Regions from separate parts of the Homo sapiens genome. Here regions 2, 3 and 4 are each linked to region 1. The links are contacts of gene promoters, found by promoter capture Hi-C in blood cells and fetal thymus (Javierre and others, 2016). All regions are on one chromosome and are shown on one strand. The core of a region is centred on a gene start or on the middle of the fragment in contact, and the rest is flanking DNA. Distances in the headings are between cores, read along the strand shown. Region 1 holds the start of SLC6A6 (solute carrier family 6 member 6). Region 2 overlaps LSM3 (LSM3 homolog, U6 small nuclear RNA and mRNA degradation associated). Region 3 has its middle 70 kb from the start of LSM3. Region 4 has its middle 84 kb from the start of LINC01267.

Region 1 (5,806 bases), core at 1,543-4,042:
TTGAATTCCAGCTCTACTATCTGCCAGCTGAGTGACCTTGGGGAAGTTACTTAACTTCTCTGTGGCTCGGTTTTACCTTCTATAAAACGGAAGAAATAATTGTACCAATCTCATAGGGGTGTTGTCGGGATGAAAAGGGTTAACTTATTAAAATGCATTTAACTGTGCAGGGTACATAGTTAAGTGCCAAAGAAAAGTAAGTTAAAGCCAGGCACGGTGGCTCACGCCTGTAATCTCAGCACTTTGGGAGGCCGAGGCAGGCAGATCACCTGAGGTTGGGAGTTTGAGACCAGCCTGATCAACATGGAGAAACCCCATCTCTACTAAAAACACAAAATTAGCCAGGCGTGGTGGCGCATGCCTGTAATGCCAGCTACTAGCGGGGCTGAGGCAGGAGAATCACTTGAACCCAGGAAGCGGAGGTTACAGTGAGCTGAGATTGCGCCATTGGACTCCAGCCTGGGCAACAAGAGCGAAACTCCGTTTTAAAAGAAAAAAAAGAAAAGTACGTTAAAATAAATGCAGCAAACACTTATTGAGTACCTACTGTGTGTCAGGCCTATGATAGACTCCAGGAGTTGATGGAGGCAAAAGAACAGATCCCATCCCTCATGGAGCTGGTAACTGGATAGATGGTTCACTCGTGTGTCTTGCGCTGGCACTACCTGCATGAGGCTCCGCTGGCCTACCTGGAGGTCAAAGGATCCCATGGGCCTTTCCAAGTTGCAGCTCTGAACACACAACTCTTCCCTCCTCCCACAGCCACTGCCCTTGCTCACTCTCTCAGACCCTCAAGCTCAGCCCTGCCACCAACAACCTTGCTCTCAGGCCTTCGCACGGCAGGCACCTCTGCTAGAACTTGCTTCCTCTCCTGCCGGCTTCACTGCTCGTGGCTTAGTCAAAGCCTCCTTTTGGTTCAAACTTCAATCCTGGAGTCCCCTCCCCACGCTAGGACCTGCCCCTTTGCTTCAGTCTTTGTGCCCTGTGCGACCACACATGCACAGGGCGTCTGAGGAGTTTTTGCTTGACGTCTATTCCTGCAGTTCATGAGGGAACCTCATAGCTGAAGCAGAGGGATGTGGGAGACCCAGTCACTCCTCTTCCTCAGCTTTCGTTTGCTCACCTATAAAAGGGTACAGTGACCCTGAACTCAAAGGAGAGTGCTCAGGTGGCCAGAAGCAGATGTCACGTGGGCCACTGGGACCCTAGAGGCACTGCTGATCCCCAGGTGCTTCCTGGAGGAAGGGGCCACCCGGGGCCCGCAGAGAAGGGTGGGAAGGGTGACAGGAAGGCAAGGAAGGGCATGTGCCCAGTGGTCCTCGTCTGTCTTGGCTGGAGCCAGTATGAGGAGCACCCACTGGAAGGTCAGGTTGGAGTCCGATGGCAGGGGCCTCCAGGGAGAGCCAGTGTCACTTCGGGATGCTCCTTAGCATCCTGGGGCTGTACAGGGAGAGTGGCTGCAGAGCCCTTCCAGGCAGGGATCCTGGCCTGAGTGGGGGCAGCTCTTGGTCGGACCTGTGTGGTATTTCTTCTTCTTCTTCTTTTTTGTTTTTTTGAGACTCATTCTTGTCACCCAGGCTGGAGTGCAGTGGCGTGATCTCGGCTCACTGCAACCTCCGCCTCCCGGGTTCAAGGGATTCTCCTGCCTCAGCCTCCTGAGTAGCTGGGATTATAGGCACCCGGCACCACGCCAGGCTAATTTTTGTACTTTTAGTAGAGACGGAGTTTCGCCATGTTGGCCAGGCTGGTCTCGAACTCCTGACCTCAGGTGATCTGCCCCCTCGGCCTCCCAAAGTGCTGGGATTACAGGCATGAGCCACCGCGCCTGGCCGGTATTTCTTCTTTCATTCTCCGTGTAAATGGTGGAAGGATCGGCTCTCTCCTCCCCGCCTCCCAGGTGCAGAGAGAGAGAGAGAGAGAGAGGGACAGGAGAAGGCTGGGGTTCGGGGTTCTCACAGCGTTTCCCTCTCATGCTGCCAGGGCGGGGCAGTGGAAAATGGTCCCTGAGGGCCCGTTCATTCAAATAAGGACAAGAATAATGGCACACTCCCCATCTCCATTTAAAAATAGTCACATTAGCTGACACTGGCTTGGCACTTCCTAGATGCCGGGTGCGTTCCGAGTTCTCTACGCTGTTAACCTTGGATCTTCATAACAGCCGGAGGAGACAAGCGCTACTATTTTCCTTTCCATTTTATAGATGAGGACACTGAGGCAGAGAAATTGAGTCACTTGCCCAGGGTCACACAGCCATGGCAAGGCCAGGATTCTGGAGCTCTGTACCTGGCTTCACACCACAAGCTCAGGCCACCCTCCCGGGGCATACCGAGTCTCCCAGAACGTGGACGATCGCCCAGGGCAACGCAGTGGAGTGCGAGCCCGGTCTGGTTTGCACCTGGCTGCTCCAGGAGCCCTGGGCCTCATCCTAGGAGCCTGGCGGAAGAGGCGAGCGGTGGAGTTTGGAGGCTGCTGTGAAGGAAAGGACTAGGCGGGTCGGGTCGGGTCTGTCCTGCTCTTCTTCCGCAGGCAGGAGGCGCCCAGGGCGGGCTGCCGCACCTGGCAACGAACGTTCGCCGCGCGGCATGAGGGTGTGCGCGCGCGCTCGGCGAGCCCGGGTTCTTTGTGTGTCCGAGCCCATGCGCGCGTGCGTGTTTGCGTGTATGTGTGTGCATGTGTATGTGTGCGCGCGTGTGTCCGCACTTGGGGCGGGGCTGGAAGCCCCGGCCCCGCCCCGGCCCCGCCCCCGGCCCGGCCGAGCTGGTATTTTTCCACCCAGCAGGATGGGTGATGCTGAGAGCTGCCTGCTCAGACAACAGACACGCGAGGTCAGGAAGAAGCCGCTTATAAATTACCGCTTCCTTCGCGCCGCCGCCAACGCCGAGCCCCGAGGACCGCAAGCCCAGAGGACAAGCTGCGCCAAGAGGGAGTGCGGAGCGTTCACCCAGCGGGTCAGAGAGCGAGCGGGCAGGCAGCCCCCGGCCGGCGGAACCCGGCACAGCCGAGCAGAGCGCGGGCGGCGCCGCAGCCACCCCAGGTACCGGAGGGACCGGGAGCTGGGCGCGCAGCCGGCGCTGCCCGCCGTCTGCAGCCCCTCCCCATCCCCGCGTCGCCGCAGTCCCGGCCTCCTCCCCTCCGCGTGCGCCCATCCGGCGCCCCTTTCACCACCGCGGAAGGGACCGAGAGTCGCCTGCTCAGTCCCGCTGGCGGGGCTGTTATTGTTTCCCCGGCAAAAGGGCTCCGGCTCTTGGTGCGGGCGGCAGGAGAGTGTGTGTGTGTGTGTGTGTGTGTGTGTGTGTGTGTGTGTGTGTGTGGCATATCTGTGTGCCTGTCTCCGTCAGGATGCCTACATGTGCCTCCGTATCCCTGTGTCTGTGTTTCTGAGGGTGACTGTTTCACCGTGTCCCCAGCAGCGTGCACATGTGTGTTCCGGTGCATGTCTGTTATTCTCTGCGTGCTGGGCTGTGTGTGTGTGCCTCTCTGTGTGTGATACCTGAGTGTGCTGTCTTTGGATGTGTGCTCTTGTGTGTCCCCGTTTGTGTCTGCATGAATCTGTGTGTGGGGGGCTGCGTCTTCCAGGCCCTGGCTAGGTGCACGTGCGTGTCCCTGAGTGTGGTTGTGTCTCCAGGTCCCTGGTTGTGGGCACTCGTGTGTCCTCGGCTGTACCCAAGAGGGTGTCCCTGGTGCCTAGAGGGTCCAATGGCCAGAGCTGGTTCTCCAGGGCCGGCGCTGAGTGGGGAGAGGTGATAGGGCAGCGTGGCTCCATAGGTGCATGCACTCCATAGGTGGTGTGCAGGTGGCAGCGCCAGCGTCCAGCAGTCCTGAGTGGTGGGACCAAGGCCCGGAGGGGCAGCCAAGGGGTAGTGGACAGCCGGCAGGGCCAGCAGGACACTTCCCCCTCCAGACTATTTCTCTTCCTTCTGTGGGTTCCTCTTTTGAGTAGGAGATTCTCGTCCCCCTCCCACTAGGGAAGCCACACAGAGAGAATTCCAGGGACCTCCTCCTACAGCCTCAAAGCTTCAGCCTGGACTTCAGCCTGGACTGGAGAGGAGACCTGTGGGCAGCTCTCCCAGGCAGGGAGGTGTGTGCCGGGTAGGGCCACCGGCCTGGCTATTTTGGTCACTGTTGGGCCTCTGCCAGATCCCGGCATCCCCAGGACCAGCCCCAAAAGCTTGGGAGGCAGCCTGGGCCCCCGTTTCCTGTCTGGGGAAATAAATCAGCTCAGTAATTGCCCAGACACTTGAATGGAGGGTCTTCGGGCTGAGGTTTACTGGCGCATGGCTCCATTTGGACTTCACTAAATTGGCCCCCGCTTTGGCACAGCTGACGTTCAAGTAAATGTCACTGAGGAGATCTTTTTAAAATTTCTTTTTAATTTTTTGTTGGCTAGAAGGGAGGGGATCTTGTCCAGAGTCTCCTAGCCAGAAGGAGTTTATTTTTATGAGAGAGAGAGCGGGTGAGTGCTTAGCAACCACCTGCCTCCCTCTCGACCAGGGAGTCACCCAGGGATTGTGGGGTGGGCATGAGGAGGTGGGGTGGGGGAGGAATTTCATCAAGATGGTGTTGGAGAGGATCCAAAGGGGGCCTAGCACGGCTAAGAACCCCCAACAGGGTGGGACTGGTAGAATGGTGGGAGGTGTTAGGCCTGGCTCAGCCCCCAGTTGACCTTGGGCAACCCTTTTTCTGCCTCAGTTTCCTTACCTGTAAAATGGGTGGGGCAGACTGGTTATAGAGTAAACCAGGGACCAGAGGTAGGAGCTTGTCCCCAGGGAACTGATTTAAGTCCTATGCTTTGTTTTAATGGGTGGGTGACCTTGGTTGATTCCCTTGGTTTCTTTGAGCCTCGGCTTGGCTGCCTGGGCAGCAAGGACACCAGTGCCGGCCTCACTACGTCCTTGAGGGGATTGAGGGAGATGAGGCTGAATAAGCTTGTAGTAAGCTGTAAAGCCGGGCTCGGCTGTAGAGCTGCTGATTAGAGGGTGTCACGAGGTCCTGGGTCACTGTGGTGTATGGCAAGGGCCAAGGTGCATTCTGGAGGCTTTGTCCTTTGGGGACACCCTTGTACTAACCCATGGCTCAGCTGCAATCATCCTCCCCTGCCTCCTTCCCGTCACCTCAACCTGTGGTGATTGGACCACATCTGCTTTTCAGAGTCTGGAGGCCTGGTGAGCAGTACCCATTTTATAGATGGACAAACTGAGAGCCACCTAAGGGACTTTGCCTTGACTGGACAAAATTAAGTTTCAAAAGGTTTTCCCTAGCTCAGCTGTGAGTTTTGGCCCCATGGGGCTTTGGTCACTGATATCCTCGGGAGTTGAAATTGAACCGGGGCCTGGGGAAAATGAGGAACAAAGGTGTCCCAGTCCTTAGGGCAGGAAAGTGAGCCTATGGGACCCATTTGCACCTTGCTTCTGTCCCTAGTTACTCATTCTCCCTTCCTTGTGCCTTCCCCTGAGCCCTGCTACCCATTCTGCTGCAGGGGTCAGCCCTCCACAAGGCAGTCCGGGCTCTGGGGACTCTGTTTTCTAACCTGAACTTGTCCGCCTGTCAGTTTGTCAAAGGATTTGGGAGGTGTACTTCTCTGAAAGTCTTTCCAAAAGTCCTGAATGATAAGAAACTTGTGAGTCATTGAACACATTCCCGTATATAGAAAAAGCTGAGAAGTAAATTATAAGGGCTCCCCAGAATGCAGCTTAGCTGCAGCCAGAGGGGGTCTGCCTGGGAATTGGGGTTGGCCTGAAATCCCAGGGCCACCCTGGCAGGTACATGCTGATTCCCCACTTCTGCAGAAGGTCATGAGCAAGAGTCA
Region 2 (5,806 bases), core at 1,310-3,809, 220 kb before region 1:
AATATTAATATTTTCTGTTTTCCTGGCACTGTTTTTAAATGCATTAACTAGTTTAATCCTCATAAGAACCCAGAAAGAAGGTTGTGGCTTTCTCAATTACAAATGAAGAATCTGAGAATTACAGATGGCATGATTTTTAATCTCAGTTCATAAATGTCAGGTCACAGCCAGGAGTTGAACCCGGACTGCCTGACTCCAAAGCCAGTGCTTGCTTGCCTTTTTTTTTTTTTTTTTTTTTTTTTTTTTTTTTTTTAAAAAAAAAAAAGACAAGAGTCTCACTCTGTTGCCCAAGCTGGAGTGCAGTGGCACGATCTTGGCTCACTGCAACCTCCACCTCGCCAGGCTCAAGCAATCCTCCCACCTCAGCCCTTGGAGTAGCTGGGACTACAGGCATGTGCCACCATGCCCGGCTAAGCCAGTGCTTTCAACCAGTGTTCTATACTGGCTACTAAATATATTTATCTTATTCACCAGTTGGCAGCCTAAACTCAACCTGTGCTGAATTCATAATCTTCCCATAAACCTACACCTCTATTTGGCATTCTGACTAGTGTATGGTAGGCATTAAGTGAGTGTTTTTCCAATGATTACATAATATTTGAGATAAAGCTAAAGTCCCTGAGACCCTATGCCCTGAAATTGGGTCAGGCAGTTTGGATTTTGAGGGAACAAAGTATAGTCATGATTATTTTGCTGTGTAACTTCTCATGTATGTGTGTTTTAACCTACATTTATATAGCACGTATTATGTGAAAAGCTCTGTTCTAAGCCTTCATGTATATCACTTAAGCCTCACAAAAACAGTATTAGGTAGACACTATTATCTCCATTTTACAGATTAGGAGACTGAGGCAGAAAAAGGTTAAATAACTTGCCCATGGTCACACAGCATAGCAGTGATTTAAGCACTACTCTGACTCTAGTACTACATTACTAATCCTGTTTCTTTTATCAGCAACAAACTACCAACACTGTAGAGGAGCCCCTGGATCTTATCAGGCTCAGCCTAGATGAGCGAATTTATGTGAAAATGAGAAATGACCGAGAGCTTCGAGGCAGATTACATGTAAGTAAATTTATCAAGTTACCTTGAAATCAGATTCCTTCCTACCCCCACTCCCTTGAAATGTAAAACCTGTCCAGAGTGAAAGGGTATTTTGAAGGAAGAGAGGGTGGTGGAAAGTCACCCATATCACATAAGCCAAATAAAGCGGCATGTATTCACATTTTTAACATTTTTTCTTTTAATAGAAATACGTTTATTATAGAACATTTTTATTCCCTTCATTTTTCCCTTCTGTTTATTTGTAAATAATATTTACTTGTCCTCCATTCGTAAATGTTTTTTAAATTTAAAACACAAATATGTGTTTTATTAGGAAAAGTTAAACAGCACAAAAATATATAGAGTAAAAAGTGAAATCCCATTTCTTCTACTGGTAATCACTACTAAAAATGGGATTATCTTGGCCAGGTGCAGTGGCTCATTCCTGTAATCTCAGCACTTTGGGAGACTGGGGCAGGAGGATCACTTGAGGCCAGGAGTTCTCTGTGTTGCCAGCCTGGGCAACATAGAGAGACCCTGTCTCTACAAAAAATAAAATTTAAAAATTGGGTTACCTTTTCTGTATGTTTACACATATACACTCATATATGTACATGTGCACATACTTGCATTATGTACACCCTACCTCTACAAAACATGGATCTTGCCATACATGTTTTTCAGTACCTTTTTTTTTTTTCACTTAATCTTTCTTGGAAATTGATCATGAGTGCATTTAATTTTCGTTTATTCTTTTTAATGACTACCTAGGATTCTGTATATGATAGTGATCGATTTTTTTTCATTTCTTGCTACAAATACGTAAATACTTGCAGTAAGCATTTTTTTACATATTTCTTTGTGCATATCTGCAAAATATCTGTAGAATTGGTCCCTTGAAATAATCCCATTTGTTCATAGAGAACCCTGAAGGTTTTGCCTCTCCTTAATGACTTGTTACTTTCCTAAGTGTGTTGTTTTTAGTATTGCTACTCTACCCTAAAGTGATTAAAAATAGCTAACATTTATTGAGCATTAATTATAGACCAGGTACTATTATTCTAAGCATTTTGTGTGTGATATCTCATTTAATCTTTATAACAACCCTATGATGATACATACTAATTATTCCTGCTTTGCAGTGTAGGAAGCTCAGGCTCAGAAAGGTACAGTCACTTGACGGTAAAGGGAGAGCCAGAATTTGAATCTAGGTTGTCTGACCTGAGCCCCACTCTTAAGTACTGTGGTTCCGCCTTCCACAAAACCTAAAGATAAAGAACCTCTGGGCTTGGAAAGGAAATAGGGACCCAGGGAGACAATCTACAGCTGGCCTTAAAGGAAGAGAGACTCCAGGAAAGGAATGGTGGTAACTTTGGGAATACAAATGGAATTGAGTTTAATTACTTAAGTTTGTGGCTCTTGGAGGCTTCTTCAGTTCCCTGTGTAAACTTGATGGTCTCTATCCTAAATGGCCCCAACTTTCTGTTTGTTTTGTGCCTCTCAGCTATACATGTTTGATCTTGTTAGTGTGCCCTGCTTAGCAGTTCCCCACATGGCTGACAAGTGACTTTTATTTTGATGTGAGCAGGTGAACCATGTAACACGTTGTTAGAAGTAAACTTGAGTTCTGAACAAGGTCCCAGAAAGTGCACCTTTTAGTAAAATGAATGAACTTTGGAGCTTGGATTGAATATCTTAGCTGTAACATTTATTGATTGAGCCCACAGGTACTAAACACATTTAAGTTCTGGATAGGTTAGAAATGGGCAGGGTGTTGCTCTACTTACTTTCTCTCTGCGACATGTGGTCTACTGTGTGCCTTTAGAAGACTGCAATGGCATTATCTTACCAGTAAACAAAGGATTTTATCTTCTTTACTGTATTTTTCTTGTCAGATTGTTATAGGTGAAATTGAAGGATGTCTACTGATAAATGATGAAGATGAATCTGCTGTTTTTCATAATTAAATATTATAAATGATGTGACTGCCTTAGATAACAAGTGGGGTGGAGACTTTAAAAATAATTTCAAGTGATTTGAAGTAAATTTATTTTTGGCAATATAAGCAGTTTTATATTTTTATCAGGTCAATTAAGTAATCATTGGAAGTGACTTGTGAAGAAACAGTATATTAGTACTGTAGGATTACTTTTTATTTGCATGTAAAAGTTTGTGATGTAAGTATCAAATGCCCTAGTTGTAATTGAGCAATTTGCATATTGTTAAGCCTTTATCATTTTTGTAATTTGATTATTAAATTTCTTGGTTCTGTACCCTCCCACTTTAGGCTTATGATCAACATTTAAATATGATCTTGGGAGATGTGGAAGAAACTGTGACTACTATAGAAATTGATGAAGAAACATATGAAGAGATATATAAAGTAAGTCATGCAATTCTATTCATTGCTTTGCAAATATCAGCTGTTCTCTCTCGAACAGCTTAACCCATATTTATGGGAAGCCTGTCATGTTTTGACACCTACTTATGGACTCAGTAGAGCATAGCAATTAAAAGCAAGGGTTCTGGCATCTGACAGACCCTGTTGCCAGTACTGGCTTGACCACTTCCTACTTGGGCTACCTTGGGCAAGGGAATTAAGTTAGCTGAGTTCTCATTGGTGAGCAGGAATACTACCACTTACCTCATAGGGTTCCCAGATTCAGTGAGATACAACAATGCAAGGTGGCTATGTATAATAGTGTGTAACAGTAATAGTGGACAGTGTTCTTTCGTTTTCTGTGGATTTGATCTATTAATACTTAATTTATTAGAAACTGAAACTGAAAAATTTTTTAAATATTTATTCATTAAAAAAACCTGGGCCGGGCGCGGTGGCTCACGCCTGTAATCCCAGCACTTTGGGAGGCCGAGGCGGGCGGATCACGAGGTCAGGAGATCGAGACCATCCCGGCTAAAAAAACGGTGAAACCCCGTCTCTACTAAAAATACAAAAAATTAGCCGGGCGTAGTGGCGGGCGCCTGTAGTCCCAGCTACTTGGGAGGCTGAGGCAGGAGAATGGCGTGAACCCGGGAGGCGGAGCTTGCAGTGAGCCGAGATCCCGCCACTGCACTCCAGCCTGGGCGACAGAGCGAGACTCCGTCTCAAAAAAAAAAAAAACCTGGCCAGGCATGGTGGCTCACACCTGTAATCCTAGCACTTTGGGAGGCTGAGGCAGGTGGATCACCTGAGGTCAGGAGTTCGAGACCAGCCTGACCAATATGGTGAAGCCCTGTCTCTGCTAAAAATACAAAAAATTAGCTGGGTGTGGTGGCATATATCTATAATCCCAGCTACTTGGGAGGCTGAGGCAGGAGAACTGCTTGAATCTTGGAGGCGGAGGTTGCAGTGAGCTGAGATTGTGCCATTGCCCTCCAGCCTTGTCAACAAGAGTGAAACGCTGTCTCAAAAAAAAAAAGGCTGGGTGCAGTGGCTCATGCCTGCAATCCCACCACTTTGGGAGGCCAAAGCGGGTGGATCACCTGAGGTCAGGAGTTCGAGACCACCCTGGCCAACATGGCAAAACCCTGTCTCTACTAAAAATACAAAATATTAGCCGGCCGTGGCGGCAGGCACTGGCAATCCCAGCTACTCGGGAGGCTGAGGCAGGAGAATCACTTGAACCTGGGAGGTAGAGGTTGCGGTAAGCTGAGATCGTGCTACTGTACTCCAGCCTGGGGGACAGAGTAAGACTCTGTCTCAAAACAAAACAAAACAAAACAAAAAAAAACCTATCACGTGTTACTGTAAGTAACATTTTTATGAACAATAACTATTTTCTAAAACAAAATTTTAATGAGGAATGTCTTTGTTTTACATTTTTGCAAATCTCTTTAATGCCCCGCTTAATCGATAACAGCTAGAAGATTCTCATATCTTTTTTCTGCGTTAAATCTATCATGAGTTGTTGTTGTAATTGAAGCAAATCTGACCACACAGATAGGTAGTTGGAAAGGAAGGAGTTTGTTTTGTGAATGTTCTACCTTTGATACTACACCCAAACTGAACAAGTGGTAGTCAGTCAAAGATTATTTGCCATCTGGAATCTGAAACGGTAACAGTAAACTTTTCGTACTCTTGTTAGGTGAAAATTCATTAATCTGCCTTGCACCTCAAATGGATCTCTTACTCATGCATGATTTGGTTACATCAGGCACTGGTTCTTTAGAAAATAGTAGTTCACTGGGCTATGCAGATTCATTTTATTTCTTCAGTGTTTAAAAAAAATCACATTTATTAGTTATCACCAGTGATCTTGTCAGAAAGGTCTTTTTTTTTTTTTAAAGACAGTCTGACTGTGTCACCCAGGCTGGAGTGCAATGTCAGTCTCAGCTCACTGCAGCCTCCGCCTCCCAGGTTCAAGCAATTCTCGTGCCTCAGCCTCCAAAGTAGCTGGGATTACAGGCATGTGCCACCACGCCCAGCTAATTTTTGTGTTTTTAGTAAAGACAGGTTTCACCATGTTGGCCAGGCTGGTCTCGAACTCCTGGCCTCCCAAAGTGCTGGAATTACAGGTGGGAGCCACTATGCCAGGCCGTAGCAGAAAGAAAGGTCTTTAAGATTTGGAAAGACAGTTTCTGACCCTGCCAGGGCATAGTGGTTAAAATGTGGGCTCAGAGTACAAGACTACATGGATTCAAATTTTGACTCCCTTGCTTACCACCTTTTTAATTGAGCCAGCTCACCTAACCTGTCTGTGGATATGTTTCCTTGTCTGTAAAATGGGAGTAATGATAGGACCCACTTCATACAACTGTGGA
Region 3 (5,806 bases), core at 1,757-4,256, 150 kb before region 1:
TTTGGCCTTTTTCACTTAGCATAATTATTTAGAGATTCACGCATGTTGTGGGTATCCAGAGTTTATTCATTTTTATTGCTGAGTAAAATTCCATTGTATGAATATACCACCATTTGTCTATATATTCACCAGTTGGGGGACATTTGAGTTGTTTCCAGTTTGAGGCTATTATAAATAAAGCTGCTATAAACATTCTCGTACAAGTCTTTGTGTAGACATATGTATTTTTTTCTCTCTTGGATAAATACCTAGAAGTGGAAAGATTGGGCCATATGGTAGGTGTATGTTTAATGTTTTAAGAAACTGCCCATTTTCCAAAGTGGCTGTTCCATTTTACATTCTCACCAGCAGCGTACGAGAGCATTCCGGTTGCTCCATATCCTTGCCAGCAGTAGATACAGTCTTCTTCTGATTTTTTGAGTGGTTGCAAATTGACAACTTTCTCAAATTCTTCTCTTTATCTTCGACTAGGTTACCTAACCCACAGATTCTCCAGTGAAGCTCAGGTACCTGTGTGTCATTCCAGGGTGTGAGCTGGGGGAAGACTGAGGGAAGACGGGAAGTGAAGCAGGGAAGGAGAGAAAGAAAACACAGGGTGGTGCATGATTGAGCATGTCACAGCTTCAGAGCAAAGCACACCAGGTCACTCAGCCATGTAACATCTCCAGAGAGCCAAGACTAGCAGAGGAAGAAAGAGGCATCTCCTGGTGATTTTCCATCATCTGTCTTTCACTGGTCCAAATTGACCCTACGGGCCTTAACTCCCCTGAAAGTGTTGTGGCCCCTTCAGACAGCTGCTGGGGAAGCCACATGCTACATCTCAGGGCAGAGTGCTTCATCTGGGTCTAGAAACAGTGAGACAAGCCAGAGCCTCTGCATGACCAGTCAGGTTGGACCAGGGCACCAGAGTTGCTGTGGTTCCACGGAAGGTAAGAGGCCAGGCCTAGGTGCAGACGTTGCCCCGTGGGAGGTGGAGCCCGTGGCAATTAGGAGATGAGCTGGTGTGGGGCCTGTGCTCCCCTGAGCAAGTAAGTGAGGCTGGGGGTGTTGGTGGGGGTGCAACCAGTGGAGCTGAGCAAACCCGGAGAGGTCCATGAGTTGAGTCAAGTACAAGCTTCACGGAGAGTTTGCATCTGTGAGCTCCTCTTATCTCCCGCACAGTCCTGGAATGTAAACAGGATGTAAAATCTGAAGCCCTGGATTTCTGATGAGGAAAGTCTGGTCTTCTCCAAGTGACCCATCCAGGATCACACATCAACCAAGGGTGGCACACATGGGTCTTCAGACTCTGAGCCCAGTGCTCTCTCCACTGTGCTAGGTAGTTTCAAAACATTCTCAGATTTACGTTTCTGGGACTATGTTTGGTTTGGGGGCACCTGCTGGAAGACCGAACAGCACATCCCGAATCTTGTTTTCTATTTTCAGCCACCTTGGGGGAGTGGAGCAGCAGCAGATCCAGGTAACAAGGCTGCCCAGGGGCCACATGGCAAGGAGATGGGGGATCTTGAGATCTAGTCCTGCTTTGTGTGACTTTGGGCTAATGATTGTTTGCCTTGAGTCTTGTTCACTCCCCTACTTCTGCCCTCATTCATTCAGCAAACATATGGCAAGAGGGTATGACCTATGTGCCAGATATTGTGCTATAGAGGGAATATCAAAATGAGTGAAGTCGTCATGAAATTTCTAATCCTGACCCACGTTACATGGGAAAATCATTAATGTACATCTTATAGGGACATTGGGTGAATTATAATAAATGAATTAATCCATGTAAAGCACTGATAGCATCTGCACATCACAGATATTCAATAAATGTGATGATGGTGATGATGATGGCAATGATGACAAAGACAGTGGCCTCCTGGGATGCTGACCTCCTTAGGTCTTTGTCTGTGAGTGGAGTGGGCAGTAACTCACAGGGGTTAATAACGTGTTGTCTGTAGAGTGATAAACACCGGGGTTTGAATCTCAACTCTATTAGCAGCTCCTTGAGCAAGCTCCTTTTCTTCTCTGTGCCTCAGCTGCTTTACCTGTAAAACTGAGCTTTGACTTTGTCTTTTTGAGGAAATGAGATAATACCTGTGAAATTGATTGTTTTCAAAAGTGACCCAATTTTTCACAACCTGCCATATCCATGTCCTTTTGCCTTGCTTCCTGTCAAGCGGCAGAGTCTCTTTCTTCACTTTCTTCAATATGGATGGCCTTGTAACTCGATGTGGCCAACTAACTATCCCTTCTCACTTTGAGTAGGTATCTCTTCTTATGCTGAGACCTCGCCACTACCATATGAAGAGGCCCAATCTCACCTGAAGGATGAAGACATATTAATCAGTCATCCCCACTGACCCAGCCAACAGTCAATCAATCCCCAGAAGCAGGGGCAGCCTGCTGGCCCACAGTTAACCACAGACATGTTAGAGAGGCCAGTCAACACCAGAAGAACTACCCCACCAAACCCAACTTGTACTGCCAACCCACAGAATTGTGACCAAAATAAATGGTTGTGATAATAAATCACTATTTTAGGCTGTTAAGTTCCACAGCAACAGCTAACCAATACAGCGTATAAAATGCTTGGCCTAATTAATGGAGCCCATGATGAAGATGATAATGATGATGAGGATGACAATATTGCCCATGTTTTGGCCTCTGTTGGGAATATAAGAAAAGGTTGTATCATGACTTCTGCCCAAAAGGAGTGCATAGCACTACATTATTCAAAGGAAAAGAAAGACAGCAAACAATGACTTCCAACAAACTCCCAGTCACTTGCTTGTTCTTCAAAGTCTTGACCAACTATTCTGACCTCAAGCCCTCGCTAAGGAGATTTGACGTTGCATCCACAGTAAAGAGTTATTGGAAGGTTCTAAGGCTGGGAATGGTGGGATAAGAGATGCTTTAGAAAGACCCTGCAGCAGGAAGGGTCAGAGGAAGAGCCTGCCTGTGGGAGGTCTCATGCGGTGGTCAAGGAGAGCAGGGACACCAACCTTCTGCTCACACCTGCATGGCTCCCCAGGGCTCTAAGAATAAACTCTAGACTCCACAGGGCCTGGTGTGACTGGCCCTCTACCCTTTTGAACCACTCTTCCCCGTTCTCATTCTGCTCAGCCCATGCTGTTCCTCTTACCTCCTCACACCTCCTCACTGTGCCCTGATTCCTCTTCCCTTGGTGCCTTTGCATGTGCTGTTCCATTGCCTCCCCTCCCTTCCTGTGCTCATCCTTCAGATCTCCATAGTTGAGATGTCACTGGACACTTCATCTAAGTCTAGTCCCCCTGATATGGTCACTTAAAAACCCTGTGTCCCTCTTTTGTGGCAGTCACCATGGTTTATACTTACGTATGTAATACATGAGTGATGGTTTCATGGGTATCTGCCCCCGCCAGGCTCTGAGCTCCTCTGGGGAGAGACCGAGTCTGTCCTGCTTGTTGCTGTGCCCAGAGTCTGGCCCAATGCCTGGTGTGCATCAGGCATAAATGGAATAGTTGTAAAATGAAGACTCCCTTGAGTAAAAACCCTTTGGGGCAGAACACTCGTGCTTATCCAGAATCTCCCAGTCCTGAAATCATGTGGGAGGAGAGACAGGCCACAATTCTTAGAGCTCTTCCCTCAGGAGACAAATCAGTCTCGTGCTGGAAGTGTGGCCCAAGACTCTGGCACCAGTTTTATAGCTTAAGGACACATTTAATCAGGCCAATAAATAATCCATCCCACCAGCCCCAGCAGCTGCATGGAAGGTCCTTAAGGAGAGAGAAACACCAATGTGGAACATTGAGTTCCCCAGCCCCAAGGACATGAAATTCTCCTGCAGGGTTTTAATCATCTAGTTGGACTGGAAATGCTTTCACAAGCCTTGCTTTGCAAACAAGTCTGTGATCAGAAGCAAACAAATAGGCTCTGTGTGGACATCTGACATCTAGGAGACTTCATTGGGGCCGCTACAGGAAGACGGATGCAACAGAGAAAAACACAGAGCTGAAAGCAACAAAAGACTCTGTGGCCTGACCCCATTGTCCCCAGAGAGGAGAGTCACTGACATCTCTCCCTTTCATCTTTTTTTTTTTTTTTTTTTGAGATGGAGTCTTATTCTGTTGCCCAGGCTGGAGTGCAGTGGCGTGTTCTCGGCCCACTGCAAGCTCCCCTTCCCGGGTTCACACCATTCTCCTGCCTCAGCCTCCCGAGTAGCTGGACTTTCATCTTACAGAATCCTTCTTCTCACTTGGAGGTGTGGGCTTGTATATAGCACTTGTGGGCTTATGTGTCCATCTGTCCGTGTCTCTCACTAGACCATATGCTCCAAGAGGGCAAGGACAGAGCTTACTCACCCATTGTTTCCCACTCATAGTGCAGTGCTTGGCATGGAGCTGGCTCCATAAATGTTTGCTGATTGAGTAAGCAAAAGAGAAACACTGAGCTGTAAGAAGGGATGGAAAGGTCAGCCTCACGCATACACAAAGATATAGCTGAAAGCATAGTAGAGAAATGGAGTGCGGTCTGGAGCCTCTGGATGGAGCCATTCCTGAAGACTTCACCACCAGTGGAGTTTTCATTCGTGTGCTCCAGGTTATTCCCTTTGTTGGTTAATCCAGATCCACACAAAGACTGTTATACAAATGTTCTCCTCATTCATAATAAATAGCCCCAAACTGGAAACAAACTTCATGTCCTTCAACAGGTGGTGAACAAACCAGTTGAGATATATTCATACAACAAATCCATGTAATGGAATACTACTCTGCAACTCAACCATGAAGGGAACAAATTGCTTGTTATGGACAGAATGTTTCTGACCCTCCAGAATGTGTATGCTGAAGCCCTAACCCCAGTATGTCTATATTTGGAGATGAGGCCTCTAAGGAAGTAATTAAGGTTAACTGAGGTCATAATTAAGGTTAAGTGAAGCTTTAATTCAGTAGGATTGGTGTCCTTATGGAGGAAACACCAGAAAGCACCCTCCTCCTCCTCTCTCCTCCCCCTCCCTCTCCTCACCCCCTCTCCCTCACTCCATGTACACACTGAGAGGAGGCTGCATGAAGACATAGCAAGAAAGGTGGCTGTCTGCAAGTCAAGAAAAGAGCCCTCATCAAACCAAATTGGCTGGCACCTTGATCATGGACTTCAGCCTCTGGAGCTGTGAGAAAATGAATTTCTGTCATCTAAGCCCCCCAGCCAGTGGTGTTTGTTATGACAGCCCAAGCAGACTAAGACACTGCAGATACACACAACAATACACCACGCTGAGCATAATGCGCCCGAGTCAGAGGCCTGCATCCAGTGTGAGTCCACTTAAATAAGGTCTATGAGCTTAAGCTGGTCCAGTCCACCTTATTTTGTTGTTGTTTTTGCTGTTGTTGCTGCTCTGTTTTGTTTTGTTTTGTTTTGTTTTAGGCTTTTAGCAGTCTGAAGCCATGGATTTTCACCTCTGTCTCTAGTGATAAGCGGAAAAGAGGGATGAGGAAGGGGATTTACTGGCCCAACCAGAAAGAGAAACTAAGAACCCATGACTATATTCTCTCCCTTGGACAGCACTGGACAAATCTGTAATCACCCAACAGGTTCTTCTTGCCCACTGCACAGACAAAATCCATTTACTGAGATAATGGTATTGCAGTAAAGACATTTCATTGACAGGAGATCAGTCATGCGGGAGACAGAGTTATTACTCAAATCAGTCTCCCCAAAGGCTCAGAGGTTAGGGTTTTTCAAGGATAGTTTGGTGTGGAGGGGTCTAAGGAATGGGGAATGTTGATTGGTTGGGGATGAAATCACAAGAGTATGGAAGACGGTCTTCAGGTGCTGAGTCTGC
Region 4 (5,806 bases), core at 2,902-5,401, 130 kb before region 1:
GGAAGCGCAAGACGCCCTGACCCTGTGACCCAGCCATTGCACTCTGAGGTTAACTCTGCACAAGTGCTCTGGAAGACAAGTTCAGCTGACTTGAGGGCAAACAACTGGAGACGGCCTAGGAGTCCATCCTCGGGAGAAGGGCTTCATGCATCGTGGCTTATGTACAGACTGCAGATGAATGGATTCACGCTCTGTGCAGCCGTGTGCAGGAGCCTCCATAACGTGATGTTGAGTCAAAACGATAAGCTGAAGGGTGACTCATCCAGCATAGTCCCATTAAGTTTGAGAGCAAACAAAACCAATGTTTATAGATACAGATGTATGTGTGAAAACAAATATGGGAAGGTAAACTCCAGATGCAAGGAGTTAATTCCCTCGGGAGGGAGACAAAGACAGAAATGCAATCAGAGAGGGCTGCCTGAGGGCTCTGACTATATCCCGAAAATGATCAGTGAAGGAGGAGGAGCAGGACCAGCAACCTGTTAGAACTGGAGCTGGAGCTAGTTGTGGTAGCAGACATCTGTAATCCCAGGGACTCAGGAGGCCAAGGCAGGAGGATTGCTTGAGGCCAGTTGGAGACTAGCCTGGGCAACATAATGAGACCCTGCGTCTAAAAATTAAAAATAAACTAGCCAGGTATGATGGCATGCACTTGACATCCCAGCTACTTGAGAGACTGAGGCAGAAGGATCGCTTGAGCCCAGGAGCTTGAACCTGGAGCAAATTGTAATTACACCACTGCACTCCATCCTGGGCAACAGAGCGAGACCCTGTCTCTAAAAAAAAATAATAAAATGAATTAATTAAAATAAAGAACTGGAGCCAAGTGAGAAATCCACAGGTGTTTGTTACATTACTTTCTGTACTTTTCTATATGTCTGAAATATTTCATAAGTAAAAAGAACAGATTTTCCAAATGAAGAGTTGAAGTCAGTGGTGAGCGGGGCCTCTTCCAGTTTTCTGAGTCATGCAGAAGCCTCTGGCAGTTCTAGAGGGTGCATCTGCGTCTCCCACTCTTCCAGCGCAAGCCGGCTCCATATTACGCTCCCAGTCCTAAAACAGAATGACTAACGTGGGATTCCCACCGTGGCGAGTGTGTGTGCATGTGTGTGTGCGCATGCACTCTCCCAGGGAATCTCCCACCCGCCTCCAGGCTGGCCCGCAGCCTCTCTGCCTTCTGTACATCTTCCAGAGTGGCCATGTGGGAAGCAGTCCACGTGAGAATGTCAGTACAGGGACTGAGGAGGCTGGGCCTTGGGGGGCCCCCCTGGCTCCCTGGCCTAATTGCCTCTGACCTTGGGTTTTGCATTCCTCACTTGCAAAGTGTATACAAGGGTAGTGTATGAATCTAAGCTTTCTTCTGGACCCTCACAGCCTCTCCATCTCTATGCCCTAGACAGCCTTCCCCACAATGAGATAGCAGTAAAAATGACAATTGCAGCTGCTGTTTACTCAGCACCAATAGTTGATTATCTCATTTAACCCCCACAACAGACCCCTGATGGATGAGAAGGCTGAGGATCAGCGAGGCCCCGTGGCTTGTCCCAGGAAACACAGTGGAGATGCAGTGTTGCTGGGGCTTTGAGGAGTGGAGGGAGGAAGGCTACCGTTGCACTGGCTTCTGCCCACCCCAGCCTTTGGCCACCCTGCCCGAGATGCCTCCCTCTCAGCCCCCGGCTCTGGATTTCCACCCTGAATCCTTCCCTAGCTCAGGCTGGATGGGCTTTGCTGGTTGAGAGTTCTGGGAGCCGGGCCCAGGGAAGCTGGGGCAGCTGGCAGAGGCCCCTAGGTCCCACGCACACCAGGGCTGCCCAGGGCCTCCAGCCGTGGAGGCAGGGGCAGTGGATAGAAGAGGACACGGGGCTCTCTCTTGGGAGCTCTTCCCACCAGAGGCCTCTGCTTCAAAAATTCGTGACCCACCATTTCCATGGTGGCCTCTCATGGGGCATCTCCACACCCACAAGTCACCTGCCATCATCTGACCCTCGCGACACCCTCAACAGGCAGGGCCATTTGTGAAATCTTCTTCCCAGAGGAGGAAACTGGGGGTCAGTGAGGCCCTGTCTCGGGTCACCACTTCCCAGCCCCTTGAAGAGTTGTCGAAAGTGAGCACATCTGTGCCCACCGTCCCCCAAAGCCTCTCTGCCTCTTCCCCAGAGGTCCCCGCGATCCTGATTTTTAACACCATAGGTGAGTTTTGCCTAGTTGAAACTCCATGTAAATGAGGTGGTCCAGTCTGTACTTTTCCTTCCCTGGTTTCTTTTGCTCATCACTCTTGGAGATCCCACGCTGCGTGTGACTGTAATTGCTCTTGTTCCTAGCTACATGATATTCCGTGCATGGGTGTGTCACAAGTTCCCCTGACACCTGCTGACAGGGGTCTGGGCCGTTCTCAGGTTTTGAAGCCAGCTGGCTTTCTGCAGCTCCTGCTGTCCCCTGCCTGAGCCCTGGAGCCTGGCAGCAGCCTGGGTCGGGAGCAGGTGTTGCAATGCTCCTCATTTTAAAGAAGGAATCAGAAGGCAAGTAGAGACAGGAGCCATCTGCCAAGGTGGGAGCTGGGGTCTACCCGGGAATACCTGCCTCTAAGCCCCAGCCTTTCCCAGCTCACTAGATCACTCCCGCCTCCCCTGCCCCAGCCCAGGGCTGCTCACATCTGCCTCTTTGACAGTCATCTTTGCCATTGGGTGGCCCTGTGTGCTGTCTGCCTGCCCTTCCCCAGCAGGATCCATGAGTGAGTCTGTGCCCGAGGCCAAGCAAGTGCTCAAGACATTTGTCATCCGCCCATCCTGCTGCTCCACCCCTGTGTCCTGTCACCTCAGCGTCCAGGGCCTGGGGCTGGTCAGGAGGCCTGAGGTGTTAGAGGGCTACAAAGTCAGGTAGGGCCTTGGGCAAGTCTCTTTGCCTCTCTGTGCCTCAGCTTCCTCCTCTGTACAGTGACATTGTTGAGAGGATAACGTGAGTTAACCCCTGAGAGGTGCTTGGCTGAGTGCCTGGCCTGCGGTGAGTGTCCACGGTTGTGGAGGCTGTGATGCCTACCCCTTGTTGCTGTTGTTATAACACAGGTGAAGAAGACGTCAATTCCCAGGCCTGGCCAACCTCAGCCCAGTGCCCTCCCTGCCCCATTAATTGTGTGTGTGTGTGTGTGTGTGTGTGTGTGTGTGTGTAGAGCCTCCCTTGAGCTTAACAAAATATTGACTTCCTGATAAAATCCTTGTCCCTAGGCTACTTTCCCTCTCCTTACTGAGCTGACCCTTCAAGGATCTCAGAGCCAAACTGATGGCTCCACAGTTCCCCCACTGCCTTGGGTCCTACTCTTAGTTTTTAAGACAATTAAATTTAAAAATTTACATGGAGATTGCTATGGTCTGAATGCCAAATCCATGTGTTGCAACCCTCATCCCCAAGGTGATGGTGTTGGGAGGTGGAAACTTTGGGAGGTGAGGAGGTCATGAGGGTGGGACCCTCATGAATGGGATTAGTGCCCTTATACAAGAGGCCCCAGAGAGCTCCCTTGCCCTTCCCACCATGTGAGGACACAGCAAGAAGGCACCATCTATGAATAAGACAGCAGGCTCTCCCTAGGCACCAAGTCTGCTGGCACCTTGGCCTTGAACTTTCCAGCCCCAGAACTGTGAGAAATAAATTTCTTTGTTTATAAAACCACCCAATCTATGGCATTTTGTTATAGCAGCAAGAACAAACTAAGACAGTGGTAGACACCTGCAGTAAAAAAGTCAAAATTCTCAGAGGAAAACTGGAAAATCAGGCTTTCTTTCTCATCCTTGTGCATTTTCGGTTGCATCTCATGTGGCTCCAGTATTCCCAGTTCCTTCTGTATCTTTCCAGAGATATTCTATCATACACAGGATGACTCCTGCATTTATCTTTCACACAAATGGTATTCTCTACATACCTTCTTCACCTTGCTATTATTTTTTACAGCAAGAAAAAAAAATCAAATTGAGCGAAACAGTCCCAAACCATTTCTACTTTAAAAATTTTTAGTTTGCAACAGTTTAAGACCCACATGAAGTTGCAAAAATAGTACAGAGTTCCCATGCACCTTTCACCCAGCTTCTCCCAGCTCCCCTAGTGCTAACATCTTACATAATCATGCTACATTGTCAAACCGGGAAATTGACATGGGTACAGTATTACTAAGTCAGACCTTATTTGGATGTTACCAGTTTTTACATGTAATAATTGTTTTGTTTGTTTTTGTTTTCTGGTGCATAATTCTCTGAAACTTTCCCATGTAGATAGATTTTGTAGCCATCAGGCTGTAGAACTATTCCAAGCACCGCAAAGAAATGCCCTCATGTTAACACTGTAGAATTGCACCTTCCCCCAACCCTATCCCTAGCAACCACTGATCTGTTCCCCATTACTATAATTATGTCACTGTGACAATGTTACATAAATGGAATTATATAGTATATAACCTTTTGAGATTGGCATGTTTTGCTCAGCATAGTGCCCTGAAGATCAACTCAAGTTGCTGTGCTTATCAATAGTCCATTCCCTTTTATTATTGTGCAGTCTTCCATTTCATGGGTGTCCCACAGTTTGTTTATTCACTCACCTGCTGAAGGACATTTGTGCTGTGTCCAACTTTTGGCTGTTATAAATAAAGCTGTGATAAATGTTCATATAAAAGTTTTTGCATAAACCTGTCTTCATTTTTCAGGGATAAATACCCAGAAGTAATAATTGCCAGGTTATATGGTAAGTGTGTGTTTAACTTGATAACGAACTTTCCAGAGAGGCCATACCCAGAAGCAAGTATGAGGACTCCAGCTGCCCTGCGTCCTTGCTAGCACTCGTCATTGTTCCTGTTTTTTATATTAGCCATTTTGATAGGTGGTAGTGATATCTCACCATAGCTTTAATTTGCGTCTCCCTGATACCCGTGATGCTGAACTTCTTTTCTTGTGCTTATGGATTTGCCATCCCCAGATCCTCTTTGGTGAAGTATCTGTATGTGTTTCTTGCCAGTTTTCTAATTGAAGTGTTTGTTTTCTTACTATTGAGTTTAGAGTGTTCTTATACATTCTAGATACAAGTCCTTCATCAGAGATCGGATTATTTGCAGATCTGCAAAGACTTCCTCCCAGTCTGGGGCTTGTCTTTCCATCCAGAGATTTTACATAGTGAACATTTTTATTTTCTTGAGACAGGGTCTTGCTCTGTCACCAGGCTGCAGTGCATTGGTACGACCACAGCTCACTGCAGCCTAGACCTCCTGGGCTCAAGTGATCCTCCTGCCTCAGCCTCCCAAGTAGCTGAGACTACAGGGGCATGCCATCACTCTTGGCTAATTTTTAAAATTTTTTTGTAGAGACAGGGTCTTCCTGTGTTGGCCAGGCTGGTCTCAAACTCCTGGCCTCAAGGGATCCTCTTGCCTCCGCCTCCCAAAATGTTAGGATTGCAGGTATGAACACCGTGCCTGGCTGAGTGAACATTTTCAATTTTGATGAAGTCCAATTTATCAATTTGTTCTTTAATGTCTAGACACCTTGCCTTTTACTTTAATATAGCTTATAGATAGTTCCCTATCATCATGTAAAGAACTCCCTTATTTCCATTGTACAGATAAAGCATAATTTATTTAACCAGTTCCCTGTTGGGGACCTAACTATCCAAACTTGTGCTACCCTAAACACCACTGCAACGAATAACTTTAAGCAGACATTCTTTCTCACACTGTGGGCTCCACATATCCACATGCTAGTCAAAGGGTTCAAGCATTTGACAGATTAATGGTGTCCTTCCCTTGCTCTCCCACTAATGTCTAGGTGATACTGTT

What was found. The method cuts DNA at HindIII sites, captures the fragments that hold promoters and counts their contacts. A CHiCAGO score of 5 or more calls a contact.
Region 2: a fragment that was not itself captured here is called in contact with the fragment with the promoter of SLC6A6 in region 1 in 1 of 17 cell types (erythroblasts); the score reaches 5.6 in erythroblasts.
Region 3: a fragment that was not itself captured here is called in contact with the fragment with the promoter of SLC6A6 in region 1 in 2 of 17 cell types (M2 macrophages and neutrophils); the score reaches 5.7 in M2 macrophages.
Region 4: a contact is called between a fragment that was not itself captured here and the fragment with the promoter of SLC6A6 in region 1, in 7 of 17 cell types (M2 macrophages, M1 macrophages, M0 macrophages and 4 more). The highest score is 15.0, in M2 macrophages.

What each region holds. Positions count from the first base shown.
Region 1 is chr3:14,399,814-14,405,619 of GRCh38, forward strand. SLC6A6 (solute carrier family 6 member 6) reads left to right here and starts at 2,793. Exons shown (of 15, transcript NM_003043.6): 1 at 2,793-3,034. LOC105376959 (a long non-coding RNA gene) reads right to left here and starts at 2,594. Exons shown (of 8, transcript XR_007095825.1): 1 at 848-2,594. RefSeq lists enhancers at 2,217-2,266, 2,277-2,446, 3,767-3,826, 3,897-3,976 and a silencer at 2,587-3,116. The HindIII fragment of the contact is 4,510 bases long and covers 1-4,012 here.
Region 2 is chr3:14,180,605-14,186,410 of GRCh38, forward strand. LSM3 (LSM3 homolog, U6 small nuclear RNA and mRNA degradation associated) reads left to right here. Exons shown (of 4, transcript NM_014463.3): 2 at 956-1,066; 3 at 3,333-3,428. Among named protein-coding and RNA genes, the nearest start is that of LSM3, 4.7 kb to the left of the region's middle. The HindIII fragment of the contact is 7,444 bases long and covers 1-5,806 here.
Region 3 is chr3:14,245,451-14,251,256 of GRCh38, forward strand. No RefSeq gene overlaps it. Among named protein-coding and RNA genes, the nearest start is that of LSM3, 70 kb to the left of the region's middle. The HindIII fragment of the contact is 3,788 bases long and covers 1,113-4,900 here.
Region 4 is chr3:14,265,437-14,271,242 of GRCh38, forward strand. No RefSeq gene overlaps it. Among named protein-coding and RNA genes, the nearest start is that of LINC01267, 84 kb to the right of the region's middle. RefSeq lists an enhancer at 1,260-1,899. The HindIII fragment of the contact is 5,601 bases long and covers 1,352-5,806 here.